Linked DNA regions of Homo sapiens: regions 1, 3 and 4 are each linked to region 2. Evidence: promoter capture Hi-C in 16 types of primary human blood cells and fetal thymus (Javierre and others, 2016). All regions are on one chromosome and are shown on one strand. The core of a region is centred on a gene start or on the middle of the fragment in contact, and the rest is flanking DNA. Distances in the headings are between cores, read along the strand shown. Region 1 overlaps TTC13 (tetratricopeptide repeat domain 13). Region 2 holds the start of GNPAT (glyceronephosphate O-acyltransferase). Region 3 overlaps TTC13 (tetratricopeptide repeat domain 13). Region 4 overlaps TTC13 (tetratricopeptide repeat domain 13).

Evidence for each region. Contacts are between HindIII fragments. The CHiCAGO score rates a contact against its expected background, and 5 or more counts as called.
Region 1: a contact is called between a fragment that was not itself captured here and the fragment with the promoter of GNPAT in region 2, in 3 of 17 cell types (total B cells, activated CD4 T cells and M2 macrophages). The highest score is 5.5, in total B cells.
Region 3: a fragment that was not itself captured here is called in contact with the fragment with the promoter of GNPAT in region 2 in 6 of 17 cell types (M1 macrophages, naive CD4 T cells, non-activated CD4 T cells and 3 more); the score reaches 6.5 in M1 macrophages.
Region 4: a contact is called between a fragment that was not itself captured here and the fragment with the promoter of GNPAT in region 2, in 12 of 17 cell types (naive CD8 T cells, naive CD4 T cells, neutrophils and 9 more). The highest score is 11.4, in naive CD8 T cells.

Annotation. Positions count from the first base shown.
Region 1 is chr1:230,947,863-230,950,873 of GRCh38, reverse strand. All of the region lies in intron 4 of TTC13 (tetratricopeptide repeat domain 13), which reads left to right. Among named protein-coding and RNA genes, the nearest start is that of TTC13, 29 kb to the left of the region's middle. The HindIII fragment of the contact is 3,311 bases long and covers 1-3,011 here.
Region 2 is chr1:231,239,851-231,242,826 of GRCh38, reverse strand. GNPAT (glyceronephosphate O-acyltransferase) reads right to left here and starts at 1,615. Exons shown (of 16, transcript NM_014236.4): 1 at 1,371-1,615. The coding sequence starts at 1,448. FSAF1 (40S small subunit processome assembly factor 1) reads left to right here and starts at 1,652. Exons shown (of 7, transcript NM_152379.4): 1 at 1,652-1,803. The coding sequence starts at 1,686. RefSeq lists enhancers at 713-1,602, 1,583-1,922. The HindIII fragment of the contact is 8,993 bases long and covers 1-2,976 here.
Region 3 is chr1:230,926,720-230,929,848 of GRCh38, reverse strand. It overlaps TTC13 (tetratricopeptide repeat domain 13), which reads left to right. Exons shown (of 23, transcript NM_024525.5): 12 at 756-912. Among named protein-coding and RNA genes, the nearest start is that of TTC13, 51 kb to the left of the region's middle. The HindIII fragment of the contact is 946 bases long and covers 834-1,779 here.
Region 4 is chr1:230,909,418-230,912,634 of GRCh38, reverse strand. TTC13 (tetratricopeptide repeat domain 13) reads left to right here. Exons shown (of 23, transcript NM_024525.5): 19 at 1-12; 20 at 1,086-1,165. Among named protein-coding and RNA genes, the nearest start is that of C1orf198, 43 kb to the right of the region's middle. The HindIII fragment of the contact is 7,430 bases long and covers 1-3,217 here.

The DNA of each region.
Region 1 (3,011 bases), core at 308-2,807, 290 kb after region 2:
CCTGATTTCTGTGCTGCTTTGGTCCTCATGCAGGGATGGGTTTAACATAAATGCTTCAACAATTTTATGAGATAATTTGGCCTTTGCTATTTATTATGTGACCTTGAGCTCATCTGATTTTGATCTGATTCCAGTGGAACTGAACTTGTAAAAGAATATTACTTCCTATTTTACATTAGCATACAAAATTGGAAACATTCCTCTGCATAGAATTTTAAATAACATCCTTTATGTAAATATGTGTGTTCGTCACTTAGGTGAAATCTAATCCTCATTACATTGCTTATCTACTGACTGTTTCGACTTGTTTGTTTTTAGATCCAGTGACTTCCCAGTTTTAATAAAAAAGCCAGCCTTGTAGTGGTAAATACAGTAAATACTGTAAAATTTAAAGTCACTATATAAGTAATGAAATGAGGATAATATATTAGACTCTTTTTTTTTTGCGAATTGAGACATCTAAGTAGACACAACACCATTTAGGCAACTGTTATACCATGATTTTGCAGTTGCATAAAGTAAAATTGGAAGATTGAAGTATTCATTTTCATTTCAGTCTTTTTAAGAGTATAGAAACTTTTTAAAGAAACTTTTTAAAAAGTTTCTGAAAACTTTATAAAGTATAAATATTATAAAAATATTTTGAAAAATTGCTCTTCAGAGCCTAATTTGTTTTTAGGAATAAACGTTGGTTTTTATTTGGAAAAACCCAATAATTTACTATGGCATTCCATAAAGAAAAGTTTTTGGCTTTTAGCTAATGATAGATAAAATAATAAATAAAGTTGTATCAACTTTTAAAAGTAATAAAATCTGTTATTTAAATTTAGGAAGGCTTAATACTAGACTGTAGATATAACAGCCACAATAATTATATGTCCTTCTTGACTGTTAGGAAAAAATTCTAAAAAGAAAGAATAAATTGGGCCGGGCGTGGTGGCTCAGGCCTGTAATCCCAGCACTTTGGGAGGCCAAGGCGGGCGGATCACGAGGTCAGGAGATTGAGACTATCCTGGCTAACATGGTGAAACCCCGTCTCTACTAAAAATACAAAAACAAAATTAGCTGGGCATGGTGGCTGGCGCCTGTAGTCCCAGCTACTCAGGAGGCTGAGGCGGGAGAATGGCGTGAACCCTGGAGGTGGAACTTGCAGTGAGCCAAGATCGCGCCACTGCAGTCCAGCCTGGGCGACAGCGAGACTTCGTCTCAAAAATAAAAAATAAAAAAAAAAGGAAAGAATAAATTGAATAGAGAAAACCTAAATACTTTACAGATAAGCACAGTAATCAATTCAGTGCTGTAGTAATGATGAGACCATGGGGTGACTTGAGGGGAGGCCCGTGCGAGGGCCTCTGTGTGGGGCACACATCCAATCCTGCAGTCAAGATGATGATGGCTACCTTTAGGAAGTTGTCAGTGTTCGGATATTTCAGCTGTTGCAAATTTTTGAATGGCTGTTTTTTTTTTTTAATTTAAAATTTTTATTACTATAAAAATGTTCCAGCTGCAAGAGCTGGAGGGCCACCATACGTCATTCACTGTGGCACATCTGTCATAGAGCTTTGCCTTCCTGTTACCCTGGATCGGGCTCTTGTTTTCCATTGACCTGCACCCCACTATTATTAGCCATGTTGTCCTGCTTGCTTCCCTTTGGGAAGAATAGGCTTAGCAGAGCTGACTTTGATCTGATAGGCAAATCTTTGTCTTCTGTGTTGGTTTTTGCTTGCTATTCCTAGTATGTGGCAAGAATAGCATGACTTTGCATGGTATTCCTAGCACATGGAACCTGAGATAGCTAACAGTAGGCCCTGAGTAAATAATTGTGGAATGAATGGCTGACATCCATACAGTGAACAGTGGGAATAAAGGAGAAGGAGCATATTTATTTTCCAGGGGCGTCTGGAAGGAATCCAAAGGTGGTGTTTGAACTGAGACTTAAGGGATCAAAGGAATTTCTTGGGGACCGAGGCAATGGGTGAGTGTTTCAGACAGAGGGGATAGCATTTGCAAATGCACTGCATTTGGGAAAGCATCTTGTATGTAGGGAATTATTAAATGATTCTGATTTCTAGGGTATGAAGTGAAGCTGGGTGTGGTGGCTCACGCCTGTAACCCCAGCACTTTGGGAGGTTGAAGCAGGAGGATTGCTTGAACCCAGGAGCTTGAGACCAGCCTGGGCAATAAAGTGAGACCCCCATCTCAACAAAAAAATTTTAAAATTAGCCTGGTGTGATCGTGCACTCCTATAGCCTCAGGTACTTGAAAGGCTGAGGTGGGAGTTTGAGCCCAGGAGTTTGAGGCTGTAGTGAGCTAGGCTTGCACCACTGTACTCTAGCATGGGTGACAGAGTGAGACCCTGTCTTTATGAAAAGAAAAAAAAAAAAGAGGAAGGAGATGAGGCTGAACAGTAAGCAGGAAAATGATTAATATTTTCTGCAGAGCCATTTAGATGTTACCTTTTTTTTTTTTTTTTGTATTGTGAGTTGCTACCCTTTAGTGGGTCCTGAAATTAATTGGCAAGTCAAGATTAGCACTTTTTTTTTTAAGTGAAATATGCTGGACTAGAAAATATCAGATTCCATTGTGTATAGGAAGTCCTAGGTATAACCTACTGAAACTGTTTTCTGATACATGTGTGTATATATTGTGCACATGTGTATGTGTGTACTGGATTGTAATGTAAAATGTATTTCAGTGATTTGGAGTTTAAAAAGTTTGAATGTCACTGTATTAGGTGTTGGGGAGTCACTGAATAATTTCAGTTAGGGAAATGATATGATGAGACTTTAGTGTTAGAAAGATAACTCTTGGTGTATATCTGGAGAATAGATAGGAAGAAATGGGAACAGGTAAGGTGATCACAGTATCCTAGGTGAGAGAGGAAGGCTTAGAATAGGGCAGTGGCTGATGGAGTGGGTGGGAGGATGCTGATCTGTTCAGGAGGTGAGATGGCCAGGATTTGGTGAGGGGTGTGTGACCTGGAGAGCAGGAGGATGCCAGAGCACCAGCCC
Region 2 (2,976 bases), core at 366-2,865:
TTCACATGAAAAAGTGGACTCAAGTCTTATTAAAGAACCGTTGGTAAAGGGGAAGTAAAACAAACAAACAAACAAACAAAACCAACTCCTTCCTTTAATGTACAAAAGGAAAATTCCAACCAATTCACAAACCAGTTGGGAGCTTAAAAAGCTACATGTTAAAAGCTGGATCTGCACAGCAACCCTCTTCCCTTCGTGCCTGCTCTGGAGTAGCAGAGTCAGAAAACAAAGTTGATATCCACCACAGAACTGTGGGGAAGATAAGATCAATGAAGAGATATATCTAAATAATAAGGCTTATAGGCAGTTAGCAATCAGAAACCGAAAGGTCTTGATAGAGAGGGAACAGAAGTTTCTCCATGTTCCAAAGAATATTGGTGTCTCAATTTGAAGGAACCCATATATTCTCTTTCAAAACTGGGGTGTTTATCTTGCTCTGCTGTGTTATCCCTGTTTTGACCTTTCTGCACAAATGAACACTACATTTAAGCCAAAATTGGACAGTAATCACCAGGATATGCTAATATGCTTTTAAAATGAATTCTTTCATTTTCTCCTAAAGTAGCTAAAAACTAATTTAGTGGTTAAAAACAACAAGAAACAAACAAAAACCAAACCAGTTGCCCCAGGTCTGTGCAATCCTGAAGGCTATAAAGCTCCCATCTCATAATTTCTTCATGAAAATCGTGGGTGACCAACATCTGCCAGCCAAAAAGACCCGTTAAAACCAAGAGAGGAAGAGGGGGTTGGAGGAAAAAAAGACAAGCGGGAGAGAAGCTGGGTGGCGCTGGCTGTCCTCCAAAATGATTTGTGGAAAAGGTACAATAATGACTGGAAGACAAGAACAGGCAATAAAAATGTCTAGAAGTTCTAAATTTTCCTGAAGTGTTTAAAACTCTATTCCCACATACAAGCCAAGTGCTCTACTCCCAGGAATATAACAGCAGCATAGGGCGGGGTGCGGAGCCACAGGCTATCTCAGGGCGGGTCAAACCCGCAAGTTTCTCAGGTTTGCCCAAAAGGTAGCTCGACATGCCCTCGCTAGAGATGGGGAGACTCCAATTCTCATTCCTCATTCTCGTGTCCAGGAGCTTTCTGAAGGCCCCAGGGCCTGATAGAAAGAAAGAGAAGGAAAAAGTGGAAAGGAACCAAAGGAACCATAATCCGTAGAAACTTCCAAAAGCATGCACACACAGACACACAGCGATACACTGTTGTCCTGGAAACCAATCCAACCAACTAACCCCTCCTCGGGAGCCTAGGGGCCAGCTCTTTTGGGCAAGGGTGGTGGGCCGGAGGAATAGGGACTGGGAGAAAGGGGTACTATTTCGCGCGGCTCCGCTCTGGGCCTCTTTTCCCTGGGCGCCTACCGAGTAGAGGAGCACGACAGCGCTGGGACTGGTTGGGCCAACGGAGAAATAAGAGTTAGATGAACTGGAAGACTCCATGGTGCGGCTGCCTTCCCGGGCGGGGTCTGGGATTCTTTGCTAAGCCGTGGTGGTGCTCCTGCTGGGGGCGGTTCTTTCGCTCAGGACGGCCCTACTTCGCCTAGGGCGGCGGCACCCTCTGCAGCCGCTACACAGGATCCCGGGCGCCGCCATCTCAGCCAGGACGGAAGCCGCGCAGGGCCCTGCAGCGCATGCGCGCAGTCGCGGAACCCGGAAGCGGGGGTGCAGCGCGGCAGAATGAGGGTTGATTCCTCGGCTGACCCCACAATGTCGCAGGAGCAAGGGCCGGGGTCCTCCACGCCTCCCAGTTCTCCGACACTTCTTGACGCTCTGCTCCAGAACCTTTACGACTTTGGTGAGTGCGGGGTCCCAGGAGCCCACGTGGAGAACAGATTTGAGGAACGTGGGTCTCCTGTGTTGCCCGTCCTGGGTTGGCCTCTGCTTTGAGGCTAAAGGTTCTTGCATGTCAAGCACCCTTCGTCCCACCTGGTTCCAGTAGCGAACACATTTCTCCATCGGAAGTCACCCCTCGACCGGGCTCTGCTGAGTTATTCATCAAACCTTCCAACTCGTCCCCAAGTGTGGGGACCATCCTACTTGCTTGTAGGAAGCACCAAGGCTTTCCGATTTAAAAGTAGCCCGCTTTTCCACGTTTTCTTGAGCCCTGGGAAGTCCCCTTTCCCCATGCCACCCCCAAGACCTGCCTGACCCTGGTGCGATGGTGTCATTTCGCTCTGGGGCCTCGGGCCTGTTGGATAATACACCAGCTTCATCCTTGTGTGTCCCTCTCCAGAGACATCATAGTCCTTGGCGAGTTGTCCTTTTCACGACTTTTTTTTTTTTAAACAAGTGCGCTGATCTTTTACTCTCCGTTCTTTGTCTTGATGGGGGAAAAGGAAAATAAAAGAGCCTATTAAAGTCGCATGGCATGTCAGTAGGAAGACAGTGCCTCATACTCTGAAGAGCTTTCCCGGGAGAAGGTGACACCCTTTGCACATGCACCAAAGAAAATCATTAGATTTCAGGACAACACACATTTCTTAAATTTACAGCGTGATATTTTAAAAGCTATTTTTATTTTGGAATGACTGCTCAAAATTCTAAGTTCACCTAAACAGTAGGAATAATAGTTAAAACTGTTGAGAACTTGCCATATAGCACATGCTTTTCGTGTATTTGCTCATTTAATTTTCAACTTCATGAAATAGACACTGTCATAAATCCATGATTGCAGATGTAGAAACAAGTACTAGAAGTTCATGAAACCTGATGCAGGTTGTCTGACTGGTAATTTTTGCAGAGCCTGGGTTCTGATTCTAGCCCCAGACCCCATGCTTGTATTAACTAGCATTTCTGTGCCCTTGGACATATTGGAGGACAGAGAAGACTTAGTCTCTGACCTTGAGAAGTTTAAAATCTAGAGGAAAAGACTATTCTGCAAAATAATATAGTTCATGTCAACACAGGCTGGAAATCATGGTAGGAGCTCTGAAGGCATTGAATGTGTCTATTCATTTTTATATCCTTA
Region 3 (3,129 bases), core at 57-2,556, 310 kb after region 2:
TAGGCAGAAGGGGCAGGTATTCTGTACTTTGGGTTTTTTCCTACACTGCTTTCATAGAGATAAGCAGCAGTCCATTAGTCGGTTGGTGAAATTATATACCCAATCAATCTATATACCAGTTGACAGAGTACCAGGCTCTATCTGAGACTGAACTTGGATTCTTAAGCTCTGGAATTGAAAACAATGAGATTTTTAGTGGTTTTCCTGGAAAGGTGATTAAAATTTAGCCAAACTAGGCCAGGCGCGGTGGCTCATGCCTGTAATCCCAGCACTTTGGGAGGCTGAGGCAGGCGGATCACAAGGTCAGGAGATCGAGACCATCCTGGCTAACACGGTGAAACCCTGTCTCTACTAAAAATACAAAAAATAAGCTGGGCATGGTGGCGGGTGCCTGTAGTCCCAGCTACTCGGGAGGCCGAGGCAGGAGAATGGCTTGAACCCAGGAGGCAGAGCTTGCAGTGAGCCAAGATTGCACCACCGCACTCCAGCCTGGGCTGGAGCAAGACTCCGTCTCAAAAAAAAAAAATGTAGCCAAAGTAGACCCAGACTGACTGACTTATATTTGACCTTGTTATCTCAAGTCAGTGGCAGGTTACCTCTATCATATACTAATAGTGACTTACTAAAATTTAGAAACTCTTTAGAATTCTTATAATTGAAGAACAGCTTGTTACAAAGTATTTGTATGGCAGCTAGCCATAAGAAAGTTTCTTTAGCAGTATTTGGATGTGTCAGATCTCATTTCCTTTCTGCAGAGTATTCTCGATATCTTCATGCACACCTTGATACCCCCCTTACGGAATATAACATTGATGTGGATCTGCCTGGAAGCTTTAAGGACCACTGGGCTAAAAATTTGCCTTTCCTCATAGAAGACTACGAAGAGCAGCCAGGGTTGCAACCCCACATAAAGTAAGTGCTTTAAATGAAGATGATTTTTTTTTCCTTTCTCAAAACTGAGCTATAAGCTGGGCATGGTGGCACGCTACTCCCTGCTACTTGGGAGGGTGAGGTAGAATTGCCTGGGGCCAGGAGTTCAATCAAGCATACTATCCTTGTGCCTGTGAATATCCATCCATCGCACTACAGCAACACAGCAAAGACCCCATCTCTAAAAACAAAACAAAACAAAAAACACCTATAGCAAACATCATTTTAACTTATGAAATGGTAGATACATTAACATTACCATTGGGAGTCAAAGCAAAAAGCCCAGAATCAGTGCTTCTCTGTAATACTGAACTACAAGTCCTAGACAGTGCACAGAGAGAAGAAAAAGAAATCAGTGATATGGATTAGAAAGGAAAATAGAAAGCTGTCATTGTTTGCAGATCACATAGTTTTCTACAAAGGAAACCTAGAAGATCTACAAATTATAGGAAATGATGAGAGTTTAGCAAGCTCATTGTTTATAATCAATATACAATAATCAGTTACATTTCTATATATAAGCAACAAAAATATCATTTATAGTAGTAACAAATACTTAGAAGTAAATCTTACAAGATCTGTATAAAATCTGTATGGAGATCACAAAACTTAATTGAAAGTTACTAAGATAAAACAAATAAATGGTGAGAAATACTATGTTCATGGATTGGAAGTTCAGTAACATTAGTAGGCCATTTATCTGCAAATTAATTATATATTTAATAAAATGCCATTCAAAATCCCAAGTTTTTTTGAGGCACTTGTTAAGCAAATGTATTGAAGAACAAAGGACCAAGAGTAATCAAGATACTCCCAAAGAAGAGGATGCTCAGGCTTGAAGGGGAAGCTTCTCATCTTACCAGGTAGCAAAACTTAATATAATAATGAACAGAATGGTATTGCTGCAGGGATAGACAAGTGGACTAAGGAAGAGAATAGATAACTTAGATAAATGGGAAAGGTGTGTTAGAGATCAGAGTGGGACTGGTTAAGATGTGGGAGTGGGCCAATTAAGTTATTTTATGGATAAAATAAAATTGATATTTGTGATGGCATAGTAATCTAATTCCAAATGGATGAAAATCTGAAGTATGAATGGCAAAATATTTTAAACTTTAGGAGGAAATATAAATGAAGATGTTTATGACTTTGGGGTAGACAAGGATTTCATAAGAAGCACAAAGCATAGATCTGAAACAAAAAGGTTGATAAATTGGACTACCTTGAACCTAAGAACTTCCGTTCAACAAATGACACCATAAGGAAAGAAAAATAAGCCCAAATTGGATAAAGATACTTGGAAATTTAATAACTGACCAAGAATTACTGTCCAAATTTATGAAGTATCACTACAAATTAAAAAATAAGAGACAACCAATAGAAAAGTGTGCAAAAGACATGAACAAGTAATTTTACCACAGGGAAAACATGAATGACAAACATGAAGAGATACTTTAGTTCATAAATTAAGGCCTCATGAGATTTTTTTCAGCCACTAGATGAGCAAATGTTACGAAGTCTGATAATAGTAATATTGGTCATAAGGGAGATTATGGAGAACTTTTATACTCCTGGTTAGAGTATAAGTTGCTACAACCACTTTGGAAAGCAGTTTTTCATTATCTAGTAAAGCTGAATATTCTCATACTTGATATAAGATTCTGTTCCTGTGTCTATTCAGAGAACTTTGTACTTGTGCACATGTCTACCAGGAGAGATTTATACAGGTCTGCCAGCAGAATTTGTTCACAGCTAACACTGGAAATCAACCCAAATGCCATCAACAGAAGAATGGATAAATGTGATACAGTCACACAATGGGATATTATACAGCAGTATAAACAAATGACCGAGGCAACAATGTGGATTAATTGTAAAATGTAATGTTGAATAAAAGCAGCAAGTCAGTAAGCTGTGCTCTCACATATTTTTTTCTCCCAAAGCTCATAAGCCAAACTGTAGAGTATATTGTATATATACATGTATGTAACAAACCTAGTTTTTAAAAAGGTACGTGAGTCAGGAGCACACATTTCAAGAGATGGGAGGATGGGATAGGAAAGCAGCATACAAGTAGATACAACTGCATGAATTGCTCTAGTTCTTAAACTGGGTAATTTGACTTCGTGTTTTCTATGTGTCTCAACTATTAAATGAGCAAAAATAATAAAAAGAAAATTGATTGCTCATGGAGATTAT
Region 4 (3,217 bases), core at 24-2,523, 330 kb after region 2:
TCAGAATTTGGGGTAGGTTTCTCTTTGTTTCCATTTTTCTGCTCTTCCTATGATTCTTTTGTAAATTTTTTGAACCTCTGCCCTTTCACTGAGATTGTACATCTTATGCTTGAAATTGGGTTGAATTGACCTAAAAATATTTCTTATTTCTTATAGGCAAAAATTCTTGTATTTAGTAACTACAGTAATGGGGAGGATAATAAATTAATAATTTAGTACTGCACTATGACATTATCATAAGTTTGGGCTTTGACAAGATATAAAAAAGCTGGTCCATAATGAAAATGACCTGGGCTTCACCTTTTTCTTCCATTTTCTTCCCTTCGTTGCGGTTGTTGCTTATAACCGTATATTTACAAGGAGCTTTTGAATGTAAACTGGATGATGCATTCTGATGAGTTAATGGCAAGGAAAGTATAATGAAGTTGTGTATACTTTGCACTTGGCGGCCCTTTCCTGGTCTGTGGCCTTCTTCTTTGGTTGTCTGCTTGGACTCGAGGTGGAGTCGTTACAGGCAGCAGGGTATGGTGGACATTCTCTCCCCACCACGCCCCTTCTCTGTGTTCTGCAGTGGACGGGTGCCCCTTACCCTTGAAAAGTCACCTTATTTCTCCAACATTTAATCACTGCATCCATATAATTAAACATCTAAGTTTATACACATAATTGAGCATCATCCAAATCTCAATGCGGAGTAGGGGAAGGGGCTTACCCAGATCTTTTGGGGTAAGGTACATGTTGTTTGAGAGAACATATTTGGTGTTAATAAATGCCTTTTAAAATTTTAGTCACAATATATATTTTGACATTTCAAATAACGTTAAAGGAGACTGAGATTTTTATGTTTATCCAAGAGTTGCAGTTTAAGAAACAGCTGGGAAAACATTGCTCTAAATTGAACTAAATTGGAAAAAAATGATACAAAAGGGTATAGAATATTCAAGAATTTGAAAAGTAGATTCTTATGGGGGAGGAAGAAAACAATCCTCTTCTTGATGTAGATTATTCTTGTGTGTTCTGTCACCTAATGAAAAATTAGTTTGTAATCTTTATAGTATTTATGAGTCTGTATCTTTTTTTTCTAGGAGGCTGATGCTGTCTGCAACTTAATCTTATCCTTAGTTTATTACTTTTATAATTTAATGCCACTCTCTCGAGGATCCAGGTAAGTAATATCCTGTCATTAAAATTATTTTAAATTGAGAAATGTGTTCTTTTTTGCTTATCCTTCCTGTTATGGATATAGGTACAGAGTACACAAAGAAATGGTAAGGAGCTCCCTATTTTTTTCCAAAATCTGCACAAAAAAATATTTCCTTAGTCTATCACATCAGCAAAAGAATTATAGAAGACAGTTCTAATATAGTGTGCTTACGTTTAATAGGATAGGGATTCATCCATTCAACACAAGTTCATGGAAAGTTTACTGTGTATCATGTGCCGTGCTCAGTGTGTTTTAATTTTTTGTATCTGCCAGCCTCTTACTGAACCTCTTCCTCCTCCTCTTCCTTTTCCATTTTGGGCTGTCAGGTGACCCATAATCCTCATGTTTTATACTTTTGGGCCAACAGTCACTCTGTACTATTTTTATTATTTTGGATAAATTCTTGCTACTTGTATATCAGGAGTTTTTTAGGTATCATTAAAACAAGAGCTATGACTGTAGAGTTTTCATTTCATTCTCCTTTTCCCAGCACTGTGTGCAGTAAATTATGTAAATGGCCTTTTGCCATTACTGGCACATAGTTGAACTTAAGATGTTTTGGCTAAAAATAATACACTTGAATGTCTTTATCTTTGATTAATGGCTTAGAAAGTAAAACTCCCCTAAGTGTGGTAGTAAATTTGGTTATAGAATTTAAGACTCATTGAAACAAAATAGAAACATAAATGTTGTCTTATCAGCATAATATTGCTAGTTGTGTCCACTGAATAAGGGATGTGAGGCCTGTGCACATCACCGCTTGTGGGCCCCACTGTACTCAACAGCCAGCATCCGTCCTTTGTCCTCACAGCAGCTCTGCTGGCTCACGTGTGACATTGAAGGACGTGCAGCTCTGATTGTCCTCAACTCTGCCTCATCCCTACATCTCTTCAATCCTAAATAGTCTGTTGATTCTGCCTCCCACACTTCTGTTTCTCTCTTCCCTGTACCCGCCACAGCTAGCTTTGCTCCTGCTCCTCTCTGTGCCCTGCGGCTCTCCAGCACCTTCTGAAAACCATGGGTTTAAGCCGAGCTTGGCAGCATACACAGTGCGCAGTGCTAGCCCTGCCCTGCCCTGGTTTGCCTTGGCTGCAGCACCGCTCTCTTCCGTGGCTCTTTTGCTTCCCCTTGGCTTTCCACGTGGGCTCTCTGCCACATCTCCCTGCCTTCTCTGCCCCTTTCATCTTCAGCCCTGGGACCCTGGAGGTTGCAGAGCACATGTCTTTAGCCTCTGAAGTCTTCCCTGCTGGAGAACCCCATGAATCACCTTGACTCACTTTTCTTGGTGTCCACCCATGGCACTTGTTAGCTTTCTCAGGTGCTCGTGCCATCCTTTCCACCTGCTAGGATGCATTATCTCATGGGTGAGAGCTGTCTTTATTTTGAGCCGATTTGTTTTGGGAAAAGCACAACACTGTGGTTACAATAGTGGGTCCCATGGCCTTTTGCCAGCCCCTTCCACCCAAAACCAGTCAGCTCCCTCTCTTCCCTCACCAAGAGCAGAAGCACAACGTCTTACAAATGCCTCCTACCCCAGACCTGCACACTCGCAGCTCTACACTCGTTCTGGAGTGACAGGGCAGCAGACCTTGCCCCACGAGCCTCCGAGCCAGCAGGCAAAGGTACCCCACAATCCCCTGGCCTCTAACAGCCACCTTGGAGCCCTGGCAGTTCACACACATGCCCAAATCTCCAAACCATCTGTCCGTTAGTACATTGTGAGAATGTATTCTGCATTTCTTCTTTGAAGGCCAGCATTTCTAATGCTTAAAAAGTAAGACTAACATATGTATTTGTATTTATGAACTTTATTGTATACATGCATTGCTGGAGTGCGGTGGAGCGATCTCGGCTCACTGCAACCTCTGCCTCCCGGGTTCAAGCAATTTTTCTGCCTCAGTCTCCCAAGTAGCTGGGACTACAGGCACATGCCACCACTCCTGGATAATTTTTTGTATTTTTGTTACAGATGGGGTTTTGCCATGTTGGTCAGGCTGGTCTCGAACTCCTGAC